Linked DNA regions of Homo sapiens: region 2 is linked to region 1. Evidence: promoter capture Hi-C in human tissues and cell types (Jung and others, 2019). All regions are on one chromosome and are shown on one strand. Each heading gives the region's core, a stretch centred on a gene start or on the middle of the fragment in contact. The rest is flanking DNA. Distances are from core to core; before and after follow the strand shown.

Region 1 (6,786 bases), core at 3,168-5,667:
AATGAATTGAGAAAGCACTAATAGCCCTTTGGTTAATTAAGCCCTGCTAAATCGGATGATGGCCTTTGTCCATCAAAAAATTGTTCTATTTCATAAACATACGTGTATTAGATACTGGAGGGGAATTCCCAGCGCCACAGATAACATTTTTTGAAAGACTGATCAATATACAAATCAGAGTAGCCAGAAAGGCAAATCAAATAATCTAAGGCAGATGAAATGGCAAAGGGAACATGATAAAAATCTCAGACTTGAGCCAATAAATGAGTTCGTTATCTGGGCACATTTTCAAGAAGCATGCTGTGTATATGTGTGTGTGTTATTTGCGTGCGTGTGTGTGTGTACATAATACAGAGCAACAAGAATTATCATTGGTTTATCTACACCCTCCCACCCTGAGAAGTGTATAACACACCAAAGTTAGGACGTTTTTCTTAATTAAAAAGCAAAGTTAGACCATTTCCTCTGTGAATGCCAATAGCGCTGAAAACAAAAAGAAAATTGTTTTTCTCCACCAGCTACACTGAATAACTTTGTAACAAATATAAAATGACTGAAACCAGTTTCAGCAGCACCACTGAGCAGAATATTTTCAAAAAGAAGTCTTCGGACCTTAAATTGCACCTCTAATAGAAAGGCTTCTCCGATTATGCTTGTCCCTTGATTTGCCAGACACAAAAGTTTGCGGATGGACCAGAAAAGTGTGGTTGGAAATACGAATTGAATGTCACTTTACCCCTTGAAAGCCTTTGGTTTTGCATGGAAAATCTGCTCAAATTGGAATGTTGATAAAGCCGTGAGGTGTGCCACCTTGAGTAGAAAAATAACAAAGATTGTCATTTTTTTCTTTAAAGCATTAATTTACCTACATTGATGACGTTTTCTGAACAGCTGTTGAAGTGTGGGTTTGAACTTTTTAATATGTGCATGTTCTTTTTCCCCACCAATAAACAATGAAAGGAACCTGGAAAGCAAAGCCCAGAGGTACAATTTCTTGAATAGAATCATTATATTCTCATTCTTTGGAGTTTCTGTGCTTTGTTCCAACAATCTGTTCCTCCTGACTAACAAGCAGTATCAGACCTTTGAGTACATTCACATCAGTCTTTACAAATGCCTTCTCAAGTGGTCTTCTCCATCCAGCTGAGCATTCCTGGGCTGTTTGTTTGTTTTGTTTTACATCGATCATGCTGCCATTGGCTACTTAAATTGTGTTCAGTGCTAATTGAGGGATTGCTATAAATGAATACTGTGTTGACCACAGTTCTACATAATACCCAAATAAAGTTGTTTTCCAGTGTAAGGAATTCCTTCCCTTCAGAGTTGACATGTCTACAGCAGGCAAATGGAACTGCTATTCTAGTGAAGACTGCTATCAAATTTTCTGTTCTTTTAGCTAAATTCATGCAGCTTCAAGAACTCAAGAAATGCATCCTACACACCAGAAATGCAGCCAAGAAATGTTACAGAGTCTTGAATGTAGAGATTTACCCATCTTGAAGGCTTTAAGAGACTGTAAATGATAAAGCAGAAGCACTGATTTCTAACAGTAATAATAATTAGTAATGTAAGAACCAATTTGCAGGGAGAATAGATTAAAAAGTTTGAATGACAGCATTACAGCACAAGTTTCAGAGCACATTAGCCAGTGTCTCTAAAACATTTGGCCTATTTGCGATGGTCAGGGGATAACTTGACATTCACTTGGGGAGTGTGGGGATCAGAATGAGGAAGGTGAACTGCCACGGAAGGGCTCTGAATGAAGCAGTCCCCGGAGTTGCTGGAAAGACTCCCCTCTCTGTTTTCAGAGGGATTTTCCTCAACTCCTCGCCTTCTTCAGAGTCCAGAAAAAAAAAAATCAAAGGCGATTTAAAATACTGTGACTGCTCCAGCATGAAATGACTATGTGACAGCGAGCTTCAAATCTGCTAAAGCAGAATTACAGAATATTATTATCAGAATTATTATTTAATAAGGGGGATAGCTCTAGAATTTATTCCAGCCACAGAGCTCGGGGAAGTGGAAAAACATGTCTGGACATGATGATTATGGAGAACTCCCTTTAAGGGAAAAAGAATGTAACCCTAAGAGAACATCCTTCAAAGGTACCACTTCTCTCTGTAGAAGAATCCCACTCCCAGCCCCCACCTCATATATATATCTCTCTCTCAAACACACACACACACACACACACACACGCACACGAAGAAATCCCTGCAACACTGGACACAGCTGATGCAAAGCAATATCTAGGCAGGGATTTTACTGGTATTTAGCATGAACGACAGGGCTCACTTTGCATGCAGTGAGGTGCAGCAGCGAGGCTGAATGGATGGAAAATCCCACTTTCGAATCTTACATAAACATCTTTCCCACATATAGTTTTCCAGTTGAAAAGCTCCTATAATAAAGCCTGAGGTGACAGCCCAAGGAGGGTTTTTAACCATTGAGATGGCTGTCAGGAGTGTTGTAAAGAGAACAGGCGCTTCAAAAGCCAGCCCCCATCCCTCGGATCTGCTTTGCGATGGTACCGGATGCGAGAGGACAGTACTCTCGCTTACCTTCCCTAGCGTCCCCTCGTTCCCATTGTCAGCCCCCAGATATCATGACGCCAGGTGAAAGAAAGCAGCTGATCTGATTAGCAGCTCGGGCGCGCTAAGGGATTGTCGAATCATGCCTCCTAAGGAGGAAACTCTTGTGGAATCTTCAGGAAAGGGTGGTAAAGTTGAAAGGACCTTTCCTCCCTCCCGCTGTCTTGGTGATAAGCTCTATCGTTTAATTGGTGCTGAAGTGAGCAGCTGCCAGCCCGATTTTCCATTACGGACTAATATTGTGCGTTTGCAACAATAAACAATTAATGTGGTTTGATTTCTTACATTTAGCAACCCAAGCAAACAGCTGCCATCTCCGCTGGTGGAGGCAAACGGCTAGTCCTTGACATGCCGCCGGCTCCGTGCCTGCGGGGGAAGGGTCAACCGCAAGGAAACTTTGAGGATTCTGCCAGACTGGGTGGGGGAAGGCTCTGGTGTTTGGGAGGAATAAGCGGAGGAAATTGTGGATACCTGTTGGCATCAGCGTTGGCGGCAGCACGTTTTTTTACCGTTTCCCAGCCTTGGCTGGATCCTGGGAGAACCGGAGTAGGTCCCTTATGAACCTCTTACGTACTGGCAGAACCTAGGCAAGAGCCTTTTTCCCTCCGATCCTGCGAGGGGCGCGACCAGCCCCTCAAAGGTTCCCGGATGAGAAGCGGCCAGACCACAGAAAGCGCAGGTCTGGGCTCAGCTGTCCCTAGGAGAGCGGCTACGGAGTCCCCGGCTTAAGGGGGCCTCCGTGCACGCAATCTCGAGTTGCGGGGAGACACTGCCTGGGGGTCCTGCAGGGGTGCTGGGCAGCGTCTTGGCGAGGGCAGAGCCGCAGGGCGACTCCGGAGCCCGGCAAGTTTGTAGCGGGCACCGCACCTCCCAGAGCTGGAGCTGCCACTTGTGGGAAAGCCTCGCGCTGGGGCTTTCGCAGCTGAGCCTTGGCCCGCAGCCCTGCCGCGGGGGTCGCCCTCCCTCGCCTCGGAGATGAGGCGGTGCAGAAAACCAGCCATAGACCACTCGGGCCCCCTCGCCTCCTTTTTTCCCTGGCTTGCACCCTCCGCACAGCGGGCTGCAGGTGCTTCCCATTCACCGCACGGACCCCGCAGTGAAGGCGCGCGGCTGCAGCCGCGCCTGCCTGCGTTGGGAAGCGGCGAAATAGCCAAGTCGCCGCAGGGAAGGAAACCGGCAGGAAAACTGGAGGGGCACAGCCTGGAGCTTGCTACTCTCTAGGATCTGTTGTCAAAGCAGTTTGCAAAAACAGTCAGGCAAAACCTTGAGGCGTACGTACGTTATCACCCACGGATATCGCGAAAGACACAGCTTAGCCCAGAGCCTATGCTAAGAACCCTCATCCACCATCTGAGGGGCAGGAGGCGCGCAAGGTGTCCGAAGGGGCATGGGAATTCCTATAAGAAACGGTCCCTTCTGGATAGTCGGAACATAGAGGAAAACGGGGGTGGGTTAGGGGAACACTTACTCTTGTGGGGCCCTGCGCTGGCGAATGTCAAGCCTCCAGGTTCACAAATGGCTGGAGGTGCTCGGGGTTAGCTCCCGAGGGCGGCAAGCGCCGACCGGTCCTCGCTCGCTAGGCAGGCGCCTCCGGATTCCGTTCATGCCTCTCGGAGCTACAGGGCTTGGTGCGGAGACGCAGGGCGGGCGCGCTGGGCTCTGGGTGTCCGCAACCCAAAGTGCAGCTGGTGTCTTGACGCTACCGTCTATGCACAAGCCGGCGGCGGCGGCGGAGCTTGGAGGAGGCAGGGAGATTCCAAATAAATCCACTAATTCTGGGCTGAGCGCTCCGGCGTGCGAGCCCGCCTGCCTGCCAAATGTAACTGTGAAGTGATGTGGAAAAGTGAGCCGGGTGCCTCCCCTGACGGATCTCATTGGGCAGAGCGCAGAGGCAGGTCTACCACTTGGAAATTCATGTAAGCAGTCCCCCCTCCCCGCCCCCTCCCCGCCTTCCCCCTTCGCTCTCCCGCGCTGGCTCGATCGCTCTCTTTCCCCCTACCCAAGTGGGCGCACAACTTTTCGCTCCTCGCTCCCGAGCAAGCCCCGCGCGTCTCTGCCGCCAGAGCCACGAGGTGAAGATGCGCCCTTCCGCGCGGTGCGCGCAGCCCGCTGAGGACCGAGCTCCTGGATAAGTGGGCTGGCAGATAATAACAGCATGCGGATGAGGTACCTGCGAGCTTTCTCTCTAGAGGTCTCACCTGAGCTCTGGGGCTGGCGTTATGTTGAAAAGCGTCTCAGTGACCCGCAGCTATTTTCCGTAGGAGGAAGAGGACGCGACAGGGCAAAGGGTTGAGCGTGGGCAGCTTACCTCCTCTTTATTCCAAGGGCCTCTTGCGTACAGAATAGGGTGATTGTGAGACCCCTGCCTGCAACTCAGACGCTATGTAGAGGCTGTGTGTCGCGGTTCTGTGATGGAGCGCATTCCTGATGTCCCCGTGCTCCTTTGGGAAAATGGGATGAGGGACAGCAGAGTGGCAGCCAGGAGGGGCGCGCAGTAGTTGGTTGTGGGGAGGAGGGCAGGCAAAGCAGAACTTGCTTGGGAAATAGGGGAGGAATTTCTAGGTCTTCTCAATGTGCCCTGATCTTGTCATATCCTCTCAGATACCATCCTTGCGGTTCTCCTGCCTCCACCAAGACCTGCCCTGTCTGTGGTCACTTCAAGTCTTCTGATGGGCTGCGCTCAGATCTTGAGAAATGGCCACCCTGGGGTAAAAGGGACCATGAATCAGGAGGTCCAGATTTCTTTTCTTTTTCAACACTGGGGCTAACATGTAGACGATGCCACAGTCATCATCTTCTAATAAAATTAGATAAATATAAGACAAATAAATTCTTACCTTAAAAAAAAAAACCCTCCCCTCCACAGGAGATCCCGATTTAGTCCCTTCCCTGTGTGCACTAGACGTGAGCCTGAGGGTGGATTTTACCATCTGGGGACAGAGCAAGAACAGAAGGGGGAAAAAGGTGCAGGGGACAAGACGCACAGTCTGTAGAGCTTGTACTGTCTCACTCAAATTAATGAGAAAGAGTGAACAGAATGAGAAAATAGGCACAACATGCTTATGATATTTATGCAAATTTGACATTTTTTTGTGTGCTGCATCTGACAACCCATTGTGAAATGTGAAAAAGAGTATTGGCTGTAGCTCTAATATCTGATTGTTTCATGTTCTAGCTGTCATAGGCAAGAAACTTAGTGGATTATTTCAGAGAGGGAGAGGTGAAGAGAACCAAGTGGTATTTTTTTTCCCCCAGGCAGTCACTAAGTAACTGTTTGTTCTCTTCTCAGACTGTGTCTGCTTACAGGGTATTGGAATTGGCTAATTCTGTCTTGGAAAAAGGAGCAGCAGTCAAGGCTCAATCAAATTATAACTGCTGCTAGACCAGACAGTCCCAAGTGGACAAAGAAATAGATCACATTTTGGGTTGTGCTTAATTTCAGATATTCATTTTCACTTGAACAAATAATTTGAACCGTTCCTTGGGGTAACTTCTTACATCTATGAAAACTCAAAAAAACTCATGTGCTACTGAAAGCTGGGGATTGTCACAAGTAACAAACTTGTCTCAAAAAAAAAAAAAAAAGCCAGATTGTTAGACAATATCCTCAAATCTCATTTTCTTAACAAACTATGCTGACATAGTAAAGATAGTCAGAATCCAATGGCTTTTAAAGAGAGCCAGAATCCAATGGCTTTGGGTATCTAGGGTTAAGAAGAGTTTGCTTTGACTCATCTTGTCCATATTTACTCTTACAGCAGTTATATACATTGTCTTCCCTGAATTTTGGTCCTCTGGAATTCAGGGTAACCTGTCTATACCTGCTAATATCTGCTCAAAGCGTTACAATAGGAATTTCCTGACTAATTCTTAAGAGAGGTTTGGATGATTAAGCAGTGTGATAGAGGATTAGGATAATGTTAGAAAGCCCTATAAGGATATTTCTAAAATAATCAGGGATGCTGAAAGACAAGGCATTTATCTCTTTAACAATTCCACCCACTCTTAATAAGATGCAGTGTAATGTCACAATGGTGAAAGCCTACCCCCTTAAGAAAGTGTTTTCTTTTCAACATCCTCTCCAGGGTTACAGCCTTCCAGCGGGAAGAGGACTGTGGTACATAGGCTTTTTAGAATGGCAAGTGAAATTGCATGTGTTGTGGAGCATTGCGGGGGAGGAAGGGTGAGGAATTAT
Region 2 (6,786 bases), core at 2,106-4,605, 92 kb after region 1:
TATCTTAGCTTCCTCAGGGACTCTAAATATACAGATGTTATTTTTTCTTTGTCTTCAATTTCAAACATTTTTTCTTACATCATTTTAATTTACTTACCACATTTTCAATGCATTGTTTTCCTGTCTACTTCAGTGCCTTTTTAATGTTTTCATTCAAATTTCTTTTTACCTTAAGTACTGCATAAGTTAGTTGTAATTTCTAATATGACTTTGTCTTTTTTTTTCTGTTTTCTTCCAGGAATCAATCAATTTATATTTTATTTCTTCCTTTTTTTGTCCATTTCTATTTTTGCTTTTTGAAGTTCTGATGCAAATTGTCTTCTCAGTCCATGCTTGGTGGCTCACACCTGTAACCCCAGCACTATGGGAGGCCAAGGCAGGAGGATTGCTTGGGACTAAGAGTTTGAGAGCAACCTGAGCAACATAGTGGGACCCTGTTTCTACAAATAATAATAAGAAGAAAAATAGCCAAGCATGATGACGGGCGCCTATGGTCCCAGCTACTCGAGAGGCTGAGGTGGGAGGATCGCCTGAGCCCGGGGAGTTCGAGGCTGCAGTGAGCTGTGATCCTGCCACTGCATTCTAGCATGGGTGGCAGAGTGAGACCCTGTCTCAAACACACACACACACACACACCTCAAATTATCTTCTCACATCTCCCAATACTTACTTGAATATATTTATTTCAGGTTTGAATGTTATATTTCAGGTATTTAAATATATAGACTGTCTCTCTGTATAAATTCAGTATATATATATGTATTCAGTATATATATATATGTATACACACATTCAGTGTATATATATATATTCAGTATATATATATTCAGTATATATATATTCAGTATATATATATATTCAGTATATATATATATATTCAGTATATATATATATATGAGAGAGAGAGAGAGAGAGAGAGAGAGAGAGAGAGAGAGAGAGAGAGAGAGAGACCCTGACGAACCCCCTCCAGTAGACACTGTTCACTCTGCGTTTCTATGGTCAGACAGTTTTGGAATGGTTTGTAAGATTCCTAGTTCAAGAGTGCCCTCTATCGTCAGAGTAGCAAAGTACGTTTCCTTCCAGTTTGGGAGGAGAGGGAGGGGCTGGGGGAGAGGTTGTGTTTTCTTTGATACCTTTTACTCTATTTTATCTTGCAACATCCTGAACTTTCTCTTCTTGCTTTTCTTTCTTTCCTATGCAGTTTTCAAAGGGTGACTCTCCTTTTCTTTTCACCCATTTCTGCCCACAAAGCCCTTTTTAGCCTTTTTCCTATATTCAGTGCTTTGATCTACTTATATGCTTTTTCATCATTTTCACACAGAAGGTAGACTTTCTCTATATAATATGGCTTTAGGAAAAAATTAAAGACCCAAAGATACCTCTTCGCTTTTCTCTTCAACAGTTTTTTTTTTTTTCAAACTTTACTTGCGTTTTCAAATTCTTCTGGCCAGAAACAGAGAAAGCTGGCAAGAATTGGGCATTATTGTTCTACCTACAGGCAATTACATTTTAGCTGTTCACTCTCTTAATGTTATGTGGGCAGCTTGGATTTCTGTAGTTTTATTTATTCTTGTAGTTCTTTACTGCTTCTGTTACTGCCCTGGTTGGGTACATTAAATTTACAAGCCTGATATTGCCTTGGCAATATCTTAGTCAGTTTCAGCTGCCATAACAAATTACCATAGGCTGGCTAGCTTAGGCAAAAACCACTTATTTCTCACAGTTTTGGAGGCTGGAAGCCTCAGCTCAGGATGTCCGCATCATTCATGCTGGTGAAGGTTCTCTTCCAGTTGCAGACAGCCGACTTCTTGTATCTTTACACGGCACAAAGAGGGCAAGCAAGTAGTTCTCTGATATCTTCTTATAGGGGCATTAATCCCATCCATGAGGGCTCCACCCTCATGACCTAATTACATTCCAAAGGCTCCAACTCTGGATGCCATCCCATTGGGGATTAGAGTCCAACATATAAATTTGGGGGAAACACAAACAGTCATAACAGCTACCTGGAATTACCTGCCTAATAATTTTTTAGTGGGCATTGGGCATAGTGACTCACATTGATGAGGGTCTGGATTGTGTTGTCTTCCTTTAAACACGTTGAATATTGTTTTTTGGAGCAGTTTGAGACTTCCTAGGTTTGCTTGTGTTTAAATATTGTTAGTGTTTGTCTACCATATTTCTTATTCTGGAGACAGTTTTGCCCTGCTACTAAGGTGTGACTCATCTGGTGCCTACTGGATACCCTAGATGTACAAGGAGCCAACTCTACTCTGACTAGTCAGAAGTAAAAAGACTCACAGCCTTATGTGAGCTCTGGGAATTGTTTATATTTTAGCTTTCTGATAGCGTACCTTTGCCTGGGTTTACAAAATTATCCCCTACACATATGCACCTTTGTATTGAATAACATATTCATAAAACATTTTGCAAATTTCTGTAGCTCTCTTTCTGCATAACTCTATCCTTTCCAGTATTCTGCATTAAAAATCTGCCTTAGCCTACCTTAAATCTGATATTTGCCTCCAAATCCCAAGAATATTGCCTAGCGATGCTGGGGTTCCTCCTCCCTGTACTGGATCTAAAAAGTTTTCCAGGCTGAAAGCTGGGGAAACTGTAAGGTTCACTTCATTTATTTCCTGTCTCTCAGGTATAATAATCCTATGCTGTCTGTTCTACAATGTCTGACAAAATTTGTTTCATGAATTTTGTCTAGTTTCCTTGTTTCAATTAAAGACCTGAATCAGTTACCCCATTATATTAAAAGTGGAAAATTTGGACTGCATTAATTTTTAAAAGCTTTATAGCTGACATTAATGTGAAACTAGTTTTAGGAACCACTACTTCAGCTTCATAAGGAGTGATAAGATAAAAGAACATAATGATTATCTTGATAATTGGGAATGCTATAAATAGCTAATAGCCATTGAGTGTTTATTGCACTGTAACTGTTCCAAGAACTTTGAAGATGAATTAATCAATATTTATCTTTCAGGTTCCCTTTAACAATTCAATCAAGTCCAAGTAGAAGTGAAAGCTGGGTGATATATTGGGAAAATATGTGCAGGGACCAGACCTAGGGAATCAAGTTGGACACCAGGACACATATTCTCACTCCTTTCATTTCTCCCATTCCCTCCTCCTCCTGCTGCTCCTCCTCATCCTCCTCCTCCTCCTCCTGCTGAACCTCCTCTCCTCCTTCTTCTTTTTTTTCCTTCTTCTCTCCTCTCCACCTCCCTACACATACACACACACAGTATATATGTTAGTTTGCTTTTGACTGCAAGAAAAACCTTGAATCAACTCAATAAATAATGATGACATGTGTAACTAACGTAATAGCAAGTCCAGAGGTAGAGAAGACACCAGAATGTGTAATTTGGGCAATCATATGTATCATCAAGAATCTTAGTTTAGTTTTGTTTTGTTTTGCTTTGTGTGAGCTCTGACAACTTTGTGTTGTTCAATATGATTTATGGATAACTGCAGTTGTTTCATGAAATACATGGAAACACAGCAACATAGAGAGGGTGGAAAATATTGTCTCTTCTTAATGAGAAAAAAATTCCCTTTTCTTAGTAGAACACTTTTCATTTTCCAAATTCTTTGGTCAGAATTAGGACACGTGCTCATCTCGGAGTCAATTGCTGGCCTGAGTTGAGGGTACATAACCTCCCAGGCACTTCAGGGGGACCTCATCAGCCAAGGTAAATTCTTTGGTGAACCATGCATGTGTGTACAAGGACAAGTCAGAACCCGCAGTAGGGGGAGGGGTTTGCTGTTACAGAAGAGAGGATTGGGCAGAACGCTAACAACAGTGCTGCTTATTATAACCCCCCTTTGACAAATGGTGTATCAGAGGCTCACTGTGTTTAACCAACCTGCTCAGAATAACACAGGCAAGGGTTGGAGGAGGTAAAATTGGAAGCCGCACTGTTTGACTCCAATGTTGAAGCTTTTAATAAATATTCAATAAAATGGCTTTAAAAACAAAAGGGTTATGAACCTATAGTAATATCAGTGATAATGTATCTTAACTCATTTCTCAGATATCTTTAATTAGCAATAATTGTTTGCATTTTCCTTCTAGTAATATGCACATAGGAGTGCCAGGAACCTGCTAGACATCGCCTGTGCTTTGCCCTGTATTTGGAAGCCCATTGGGAAATTTGAAAAGGTCTGAGAAGAATCATCCCGTCTGTTAAGTGATAATTTGAGAAGAAAGAAACATCGTCCTTGAAGTGCAGAGAGTTGCTTCTCTCTTGACACCTTAGAGGCAAGTCCAGGGAGCAGAATTAAGTGACAGTAAAAGGAAAAGATCACATGTATCACAGGAATGAGAAATCCTTATGGCTAAGTCAGCTTTCCACAGTTAGGCTACACTTTGATGTTGGCAAAAGTTTCCCTAGTGGGAGAGACATAGGGAAAAGGGCAGAGGAATAAAGAGACAGCTTCACTTACCCAGTCTAAGTAAAGAGGTGAACAGTTCATCCATCTAATATTTAATATGGGCTTCTCTTGTGAAGAGCTGGAAATGCATTTATTAAAGTCTGCATAAGCAGTTGAGTTATAACCTCCAAAATAAACTGGAAGAAATAAAGGAAAAGAAACTGACTTACTGAAAAGTTTATAAGCCCTCACAGAGAGCCAAGCTGCAAACAAGAATCCATGCAGAGCTGAAGGGATGTCTCCGGGGGATTAGTTGCAGAATTGTTTTCTCTAGTGGATGCTGTAGTGTATGGACCGATTCCTCCATTGATGGCCAAACTACTCATTCCCCCACCTGCTGAGAATCAGAGTGTGGACGGCTGATGACTCATGACTGAGTTCCTTACCAGGAATTAACCTTGACTGGGCCCAAGTGTATGCTCCCTGTCTGGGTTCAAATTAAAATCCAAAACGTAGTCTATGTGGGAGTACAGATACCCAGTCATCATGTCTCAGTTTGGGGCAGCTCTGATGGGTCCTCCCAGTTCTAGAACCAGCTGTAGTCTTTATTGTAATGGCATCATAGTTCAGCTTGCCCTTGCCTAATTCTGCTGCCTTCCTTTCTTCACTGGTGTTCTTTCCCAAACAACTCGGGAATAAATTCCCTGCATGCAAATCTTTGCCTCCAAGTCGGTTTTCTCTGAAACTAGACCTCAGAAACTTCAACATAGTGAAACTCATAGTGAAACCTTATCCTTTGTCTGGGACTGATGGTTTCTCTGGCATGTGGGACATTCAGTCCCTAAAGTGGAAGAGACCCAAGCAAACCGGAATGGTTATTCATTGAACCTCAATGATACAGTTAAAATAGACTGAAAATTCTACTCAAAGATGAGCCAAAAATGTCATGAAAATTCTGTCATCAACATGTGCATGGAAGTCTTTTTCTTTTTCTTTTCTTTTCTTTTTTTTTTTTTTTTGAGATGGAGTCTTGCTTCATCACCTAGGCTGGAATGCAGTGGCTCAATCTCAGCTCACTGCAACCTTCGCCTCCTGGGTTCAAGTGATTCTCCTGCCTCAGCCTCCCGAGTAGCTGGGATTACAGTCCCCTTCCATCACGCCCAGGTAATTTTTGTATTTTTTTTTTTTAGTAGAGACAGGGTTTCACCATGTTGGCCAGGCTGGTCTTGAACTCCTGACCTCAGGTGATCCATCCACCTTGGCCTCCCAAAGTGCTGAAATTAGAGGCGTGAGCCACTGCACCTGGCTGGAAGTCTGTATCTTTTGCTGGTATATAAAAAATCTTTGTGTTTTCTTTCTATGCCTCTGGTAACCAGCCTTCATAGCTTTTTCTGCTATAAATCCCCCCTATATACTGCTGATAGGGTGAACTTCCTGACTTGAAACTCCAATAGAGAGTTATCCTCTCACCTCATCAGAGAACCTTGCCATGGTTCTCTAATTCTTCCATTTTGTTCTCTAAGCTGCTTCCAGTGAGATATTTCTGAAGTGGAGTTGTGATCATGTCCCTGCTTCTTAACACCACGCCACAGCTCTGTTTTACCTTTGGCAGAGTCTGAATTCCTACCCTCAATGTTTATTGAAGACATGACCTCTTAGCTCTCCAGCTCTTGTGCTTCCACTCCCCTTTTCTCTCCAGCCATCCATGACTACCAAGTTATAGTGCTAGTGATAAGGCTTCCCCTCTTTCAGTCAGAGCCTTTGTTAGAAAACCCCTTCCTCTCTCCTTTGCCTGACAATTTTCAATGTGATTCATTTTTCCCACTCTGTTTAGATGTGTCATGTCTTCTACTAGGAAGCCTTACATGGTGCCCCTGGCCACCCTGGTTTGGATTAGATAGCCCTTCTTGTGTGCTCATAGACTCCCACCTGGACTTCCATAGCTGTCTATCACGTCTCCCTACTTTTAGTGCACACCTTCTCTGGCTTCTATACTGAAGGCAGAAAGTTCTATTCACAATGAGAATCGGATTATATCTCACTTCTTGCCCAATTTCACACAACTGTGTTAACAAAAAATCAGTAGCTGCCTCACTGATCTTAGAATAAAGATTGTTATTTTTATTTATTTATTCATTTATTATTATTATTATTTCATACAGAATCTCACTCTGTCGCCCAGGCTGGAGTGCAATGGTGCGATCTCGGCTCACTGCTACCTCCACCTCCTGGGTTCAAGTGAGTCTCATGCGTCAGCCTCCCGAGTAGCTGGGATTACAGGCGCCTGCCACCCTGCCCAGCTAATTTTCATATTTTTAGTAGAGATGGGGTTTCACCAGCTTGGCCAGGCTGGTCTCAAACTCCTGACCTTGTGATCCACCTGCCTTGGCCTCCCAA

What was found. Contacts are between HindIII fragments. The study calls those that stand out against the background at their distance.
Region 2: a contact is called between a fragment that was not itself captured here and the fragment with the promoter of CDH8 in region 1, in 2 of the 25 tissues and cell types used here (heart left ventricle and spleen).

What each region holds. Positions count from the first base shown.
Region 1 is chr16:62,032,021-62,038,806 of GRCh38, forward strand. CDH8 (cadherin 8) reads right to left here and starts at 4,418. Exons shown (of 12, transcript NM_001796.5): 1 at 4,060-4,418. LOC124903777 (a long non-coding RNA gene) reads left to right here and starts at 4,570. Exons shown (of 2, transcript XR_007065217.1): 1 at 4,570-4,757; 2 at 5,193-5,413. RefSeq lists an enhancer at 2,219-2,720. The HindIII fragment of the contact is 11,196 bases long and covers 1-6,786 here.
Region 2 is chr16:62,125,551-62,132,336 of GRCh38, forward strand. LOC124903778 (a long non-coding RNA gene) reads left to right here. Exons shown (of 2, transcript XR_007065218.1): 2 at 4,091-5,104. Among named protein-coding and RNA genes, the nearest start is that of CDH8, 93 kb to the left of the region's middle. The HindIII fragment of the contact is 4,758 bases long and covers 977-5,734 here.